2 separate regions of the Homo sapiens genome follow, and region 1 is linked to region 2. The links are contacts of gene promoters, found by promoter capture Hi-C in blood cells and fetal thymus (Javierre and others, 2016). All regions are on one chromosome and are shown on one strand. The core of a region is centred on a gene start or on the middle of the fragment in contact, and the rest is flanking DNA. Distances in the headings are between cores, read along the strand shown. Region 1 holds the start of CDCA5 (cell division cycle associated 5). Region 2 holds the start of SF1 (splicing factor 1).

The links. The method cuts DNA at HindIII sites, captures the fragments that hold promoters and counts their contacts. A CHiCAGO score of 5 or more calls a contact.
Region 1: the fragment with the promoter of CDCA5 here is called in contact with the fragment with the promoter of SF1 in region 2 in 1 of 17 cell types (M2 macrophages); the score reaches 6.5 in M2 macrophages.

The regions. Positions count from the first base shown.
Region 1 is chr11:65,082,752-65,085,460 of GRCh38, forward strand. It overlaps CDCA5 (cell division cycle associated 5), which reads right to left and starts at 1,289. Exons shown (of 6, transcript NM_080668.4): 1 at 1,182-1,289; 2 at 878-972; 3 at 734-799; 4 at 613-648. The coding sequence starts at 1,227. It overlaps ZFPL1 (zinc finger protein like 1), which reads left to right and starts at 1,471. Exons shown (of 8, transcript NM_006782.4): 1 at 1,471-1,627; 2 at 1,940-2,049; 3 at 2,364-2,475. The coding sequence starts at 1,948. RefSeq lists enhancers at 1,021-1,250, 1,331-1,600, 2,190-2,709. The HindIII fragment of the contact is 9,431 bases long and covers 1-2,709 here.
Region 2 is chr11:64,776,847-64,779,837 of GRCh38, forward strand. SF1 (splicing factor 1) reads right to left here and starts at 1,696. Exons shown (of 13, transcript NM_004630.4): 1 at 1,516-1,696. The coding sequence starts at 1,546. RefSeq lists silencers at 841-1,150, 1,411-1,810 and enhancers at 1,473-2,074, 2,051-2,160. The HindIII fragment of the contact is 14,384 bases long and covers 507-2,991 here.

The sequences.
Region 1 (2,709 bases), core at 39-2,538, 310 kb after region 2:
GCACCCGGCCTCTACTTGTCTTTAAAGACTCAGTTCAAATGTTTCTTCTTCCACGAAACATTCCCTGAGCCACATGGTCTGGGTTAGCTACCATCATAGCATCTAGTATTCCTTATTGCAGTCCCAGTACACAACGTTGCTATCACTTGTCATTGGTCTTTCTCCCCAGTTGACTCTAAGCCCTATCAGCTCTTCAAAGGAGTTCACATTTCTCAGTCAGTATGTCTTCAGATTGTCTATTAATGAAACATCCTTTGATAATAACTTCTGCTAAAACTGTAAAAATGTCATACACATGACTTATCTCAGAACACCCATACATGAAAGCTGAAGGCATAATGGATTAGAAAGGCAGTACGTGGAGTTAAGACATAGCTCAGCTTTTAAAGGAAGTTCCAGGAAAATGGTAGAAATACACAAGGCATAAAAAGTTAAGTGTATTAAGTCTTCAGGGAGTAATCAAGACTGGCAATGCATGCAGGTGCCCACAGGCAAACTGTTTTTGCAGTACTGCAAAACAGCTCCCTGGGCAGATGTGAGGAGCCAATGTGTGCTGTCCAGCTCTAGAGTGACCCAGATTCTACTTAATTAAGTAGATGAAAGTGAACTCACCCTAGGGCTCCTGCGAGGTGATTGGACAGCTGGGACCTGCGGGGGACAATACCAATTGATCACATAGCTGGTCCCCAGTTTTGCCCGCCTAACCACCCACAACACTCTCCTTAGCCTTTACCTCTACAGCATGGGCCACGATCCTCTTTAAGACGATGGGCTTTCTGACTGCAGCCGCACTGGGTGTCTGGAGAAGAGGGATGAACGTGAGCTCAACATTAGGTGAGGGGCCACAAGGGGAGGAAGTGAGAAATCTGGGGCTCACCTTCGGCCAGATTTCAGGGAGGATGCTCGGGAGTTCAGAGCCTGATTTCCGCTGGGACCTCCGCAGAGGCTTAGTAGGAGATGGGGCCCTTGGCCCTGGAAAGAGAAAAAAGTTAAGTGGTAGAGGAGGACTCTAGACCTTAGAGTCCAGAGAACAGGTTCTAGAGACAGCGAGAAGATTCCCAAACAAGCCCTTTTAAGGGCGCCTCCTCCGGCGGCGGCAGCGGGAGGGAAGAGGCCATCTTTCACCGGACTGCGTCCCCCAAACGGCTCGACCTCACGTCTCCCGCGCGCCCTCCGCTCACCGGAGCGCTGAGCGGCTCCTCCGGACCGCGTTCGCCTCCCAGACATAACTTAGGCTCCGTCTCGAGCTCCTCCAGCGCCGCCGCCCCGGGCGCGCGCCAACCGGGAAGGCCACTCGCTGCAAAAAACGTTCGAATTACCCGCCCTGCGGGAAAGGAAGCGGAAGTGACGTAGGGCTAGCGGTCTGCGGCCCTCGGAACCCCGAGTCTTTTCCACCCGTCTTCACCTCTAGCGGCAGCGGAGGCGTGGCCCAGGGGCGCGATGGCGTCATCAGCGCGCGCCGCACCCGGAAGAGACGTGGCAGCGGAGGGATAATCGGGGCGGCCGGGGCTGAAGGGAGAGGCGCAGGAGCCCTGGGGAGAGTGGTCCCTGCCCTTCCGCGCCTCGAGCCATCGCTACCGCCCTTCGGAACCAGTGCAGCGGCCGATCAGTAAACACAGAGACTGGGGTCTGTAGAGAAGGGGCGGGACTTGGAGGGGGTGGGGCTCAGGAGAGGTCTTGGGGGCGGGGCCGGTAGTATCGGGGAGCCTCTGATGGAGGGGCCTGGCCGGGGGCGGGATCCAGAAGGATTGAGGGGTCGCCGGAGGCGGGATTTATGCAGGGGGTGTTTCTCCGCATAAGGAGGGACAGTGGGCAGGAATCTGAGATCGGGGCGAATATGAGAGGTGTCTGGGGGAGTTAAGAGTGGAAACTGGGCTGGTGAGAGCGTAGTGGTGGCCACCAGAACCTGACTTCCTACCAACTCATGCCCCTTTCCCAGGATCGATCATGGGGCTTTGTAAGTGCCCCAAGAGAAAGGTGACCAACCTGTTCTGCTTCGAACATCGGGTCAACGTCTGCGAGCACTGCCTGGTAGCCAATCACGCCAAGGTGGGGCCTTCAGGGGAGCGACTGAGCAGGGCACTGGGTGGGCAAGGCGGTATTGGCTTCCTCCAAATCCATGAGGGGCCCCGCGCTAGAATGTAAGCCCCACAAGGGCAAGGACTTGATTTATTTTGTTCACTGATATATCCCCCGTTCCCAAGAGAGAGTCTGGTGCACAGTATGTGCTCAATAAATATTTATTGATTAAACAAACGAAAGGATGAGTCTCCTCTGTGGCTAGAGAAAAAGAGACAGTCGGACCTTGGGGTGATAGGCCGAGCAGCCCCAGCACCAGTTGTGACATCTCTCTCCCACTCCAGTGCATCGTCCAGTCCTACCTGCAATGGCTCCAAGATAGCGACTACAACCCCAATTGCCGCCTGTGCAACATACCCCTGGCCAGCCGAGAGACGACCCGCCTTGTCTGCTATGGTGAGGCCTTGGCACCTCGGGGGGATCAGGCCAGCCTCAGGGGCCAGCTTGGTGACTGGTTTCCAGGCCCTCCTCAAGCAGCAGGACAGTGAGTCCCCCGAGTCTCAGAGCCCAGATTCTAGTCCTGTTAAAGTTCCTTACCTGCTGTGTAAGTTCAGGCAAGTTATTCTTCCTTTCTAGGCCTCACTGTCTTTCCTAAAAATTAAAGCTCCTAGTTCCTCTTTCCTAAAAATT
Region 2 (2,991 bases), core at 446-2,945:
ATTTCACCTTCTTTTGTCTAGAAAAACTGTCAGATATATAAACGTGGTAATCTTAATGCATATGGCTGCAGAGAGTGTTAGATAGATACTACATCAACCATGAGTGCTCTGAAATCCCCAGGGGAGACAAAAATACACTGAAGAATCATAGATTTGTAAAGCAGTCCTGATGGGACTGGGGGCTCCACCCACCTCCACTCCCCTCACCAGTCACTTTTGTACGAGAGGCCGGACCACAACTAAACCTAGTTACACCCTACCAAGTGGGAAAAGCCCAATTCTTCAACAAGATCACCTTTGTCTTCATAAGTTTAGCCAAGATCAGCATTCAGTTTTCCTGGCCAGTTGGACACTGAGGGTCTGAACTCTTAAAAGGATCTATCAAAAATTCAACAACCTATACAATAGCAGCCAAGTTCTCCTTTCCCCGTACATAGGCAGAAACTCCCTACATTTGCCACAAAAGAGTCCTTCTATTTCCCAAGGGGTACAGGATCAGAGGGAAAAGCTTTTTAAAACAAAGCGACAGGGCAGCCGATCAGACTGAGATCTAAACATACTGAACAGATTTAAAAAAAAAAACAAACTAAAATTCTCTCCCCAAAAGAGACCAAGAAAGATCAGACCCAACCATCATCTGAAGCATGCCAACCTCTCCCGGATGAAAACCCTGCCTTGCTGTAGAAGCAGAGGAGCTATCCTTGGTACGGTTCCCATTCTGGTTCCTCAAGACCAGAAGGGAGTCGCTGCACGTCATCAGGTGAGGCTTTCACGCCCTGCTGGCATTCACAGCTAGCACCCCGTCCAGCGCTGAACACCCGCCACCCCTGTTCCCGACACCAGCGGACTGGACAGCAATAGTGGGCCCCCAGTCTATACAGTTGCGCCGCACAGCCCGGCCACCTCACTGCGTCTGCGCACAGAGCGCCTCCCGCCCGCCCAGCCCTCCCCCCACAGCGCGCGTGCGCACTCGAGGCCCTAGAACCAGGCCGCGCGCGCCCAGGGGCGCCTCCGCCCGGGCCTCCCCGTGCGCGCACGCGCGCCCCTGCCGCGTGCAGCCGCCGTCGCCGCCGCCGCGCGCCCCTCAGGCGGCCGGGCCCGTCCGCGCGACGCCTCTCGCGCTCTCTCGGCCCGACTCACCTCCTCCGCCGCCGGCCGGGCCCGGCTGCTGGTCCTTACGCGGCGGCTGGGGTGGCGGCGGCTGCGGCGGCGACACGCGCTGGTAGAGCGGCGGCGGAGGGGGCGGCTGCGGCGGCGGGTACGAGGCGCCGGGGGACGGTGGCGGTGGAGGCGGCGGCGGCTGCTGGGGAGGCGGAGGGGGCGGCGGCGGAGGCGGCGGAGGCAGCGCCGCGAAGGGGAAGGCCGCGGTCAGGGCCCCCATCGAGCCCACGGGCGGGGGCGGCGGCGGCCCGGGAGCCAGCAGCCCCGCCCCAGGCCCGGGTGCAGGCGGAGGGCCCGGCTCGAAGCCTCCTTTGGGCCCGGGGAGCGGGGGCAGCCCGGGGGGGCCCAGCTTACCCAACGGCGTGGCGTTCGCTCCGGTCGCCATGGCGCCCCCGGGGACAGGCACCGGCACCTGCTTTTCCTCTGCGGCGGCTTCTCCTTCGCAAGCCTCCCGGGGGGAGGGGACCCGAATGCGCTGCCGGAGCGCGCGGAGCCCGTCCTCTCACGCGGCGGGCGGCGGCGGCGCGAGACGCACAAAGAGGGAGGAGAGAGGGCACCGCGGGGGCGGGCCGGGGGCGGCGGGGCCGGGGCCTGGATTGGGCCGGGCCGAGGCGAAGGGTCGAAATCGGCGGCCTCCGATTGGCGGAGCCTCAGTCCTTCTTGATGCGCGCTGGGATTGGCCGAACCGTTAGGCCAAGCGAGGAAATGGCGGCGGAGTTCGGTGGGCTGGGAGGTGTCGCAGCGCGCACTTCATTTGTTACTGCGTGAACTGAGCTCCGAGTCCAGAAAGGAGGGGATGGGGTGGGGCGAACTCTATGACGGAGCGACGGCGAGCTCTCTCATTGGCTGCGGTGGTGGACTCAATCAATCTCGCCTGCGTTGTAGTGTCGCGGGATTGGCTGTCGCTGGTTCCAGCCTTTTTCTACTCCCCTCCCCCAGGGGGCAGTTTCTCCGGGATTAAGCGAGAGTCGCGGCGGAAAAGGCCCAGCCGGAACGAGATTTACGGCGGGGGAGTCCTGGAGCAGGAAGTGCGCATGCGTAGATGGAGCAAAACCGCCTCTCCACCCGTCTCCCTTCACCATCGACCCTTGGGTCCAGCAAGGAAGCCCTAAGTGACGTCAACCTTTGTTCCCATGGTAACGCAGAACCTTGGGGCGGGAGCAGGGGAGGGGCTGGCGCGCGCCGGAAAACCGGCTCAGTTGACGCTGCAGGTAAAAAGACTTCCTGTTTTTTTGGAAAAAAAAAAAAAAAAAAAAAGTGACCCAAAAAGCTACGAATAGAGACGACTTATCGAAGGATTTAAAACAGTATTTGAACTGATGCAACAACATATTAGATGAAAGGTAACAGAAGGTTGTCAGTTCAAAAATTACAAATACACACTTCTATTGGAATCTCCACGGAGTTCAGAGGATTTAATTAAATGATCTTAAAATCGTATAAAACAATAACTACGGCCGGGCGCGGTGGCTCACGCCTGTAATCCCAGCACTTTGACAGGCCGAGGCGGGCGAATCACAAGGTCAGAAGGTCGAGACCAGCCTGACCAACATGGCGAAACCCCGTCTCTACGAAAAATACAAAAATTAGTTGGGTGTAGTGGTGCACTCCTGCAATCCCAGCTTCCCAGGAGGATGAGGCAAGAGAATCGCTTGAACCCGGGAGGCGGAGGTTGCAGTGAGCCGAGATGGGGCCACTGCACTTCAGCCTGGGTGACAGAGCGAGACTGTCAAAAATAAAAATAAAAATAACTACTACAGTACTGGGAAAACTTTACAAGACGGAGCAGGAGCTTGCCTTTCCAGATGACAAACATAGTATATAAAACAC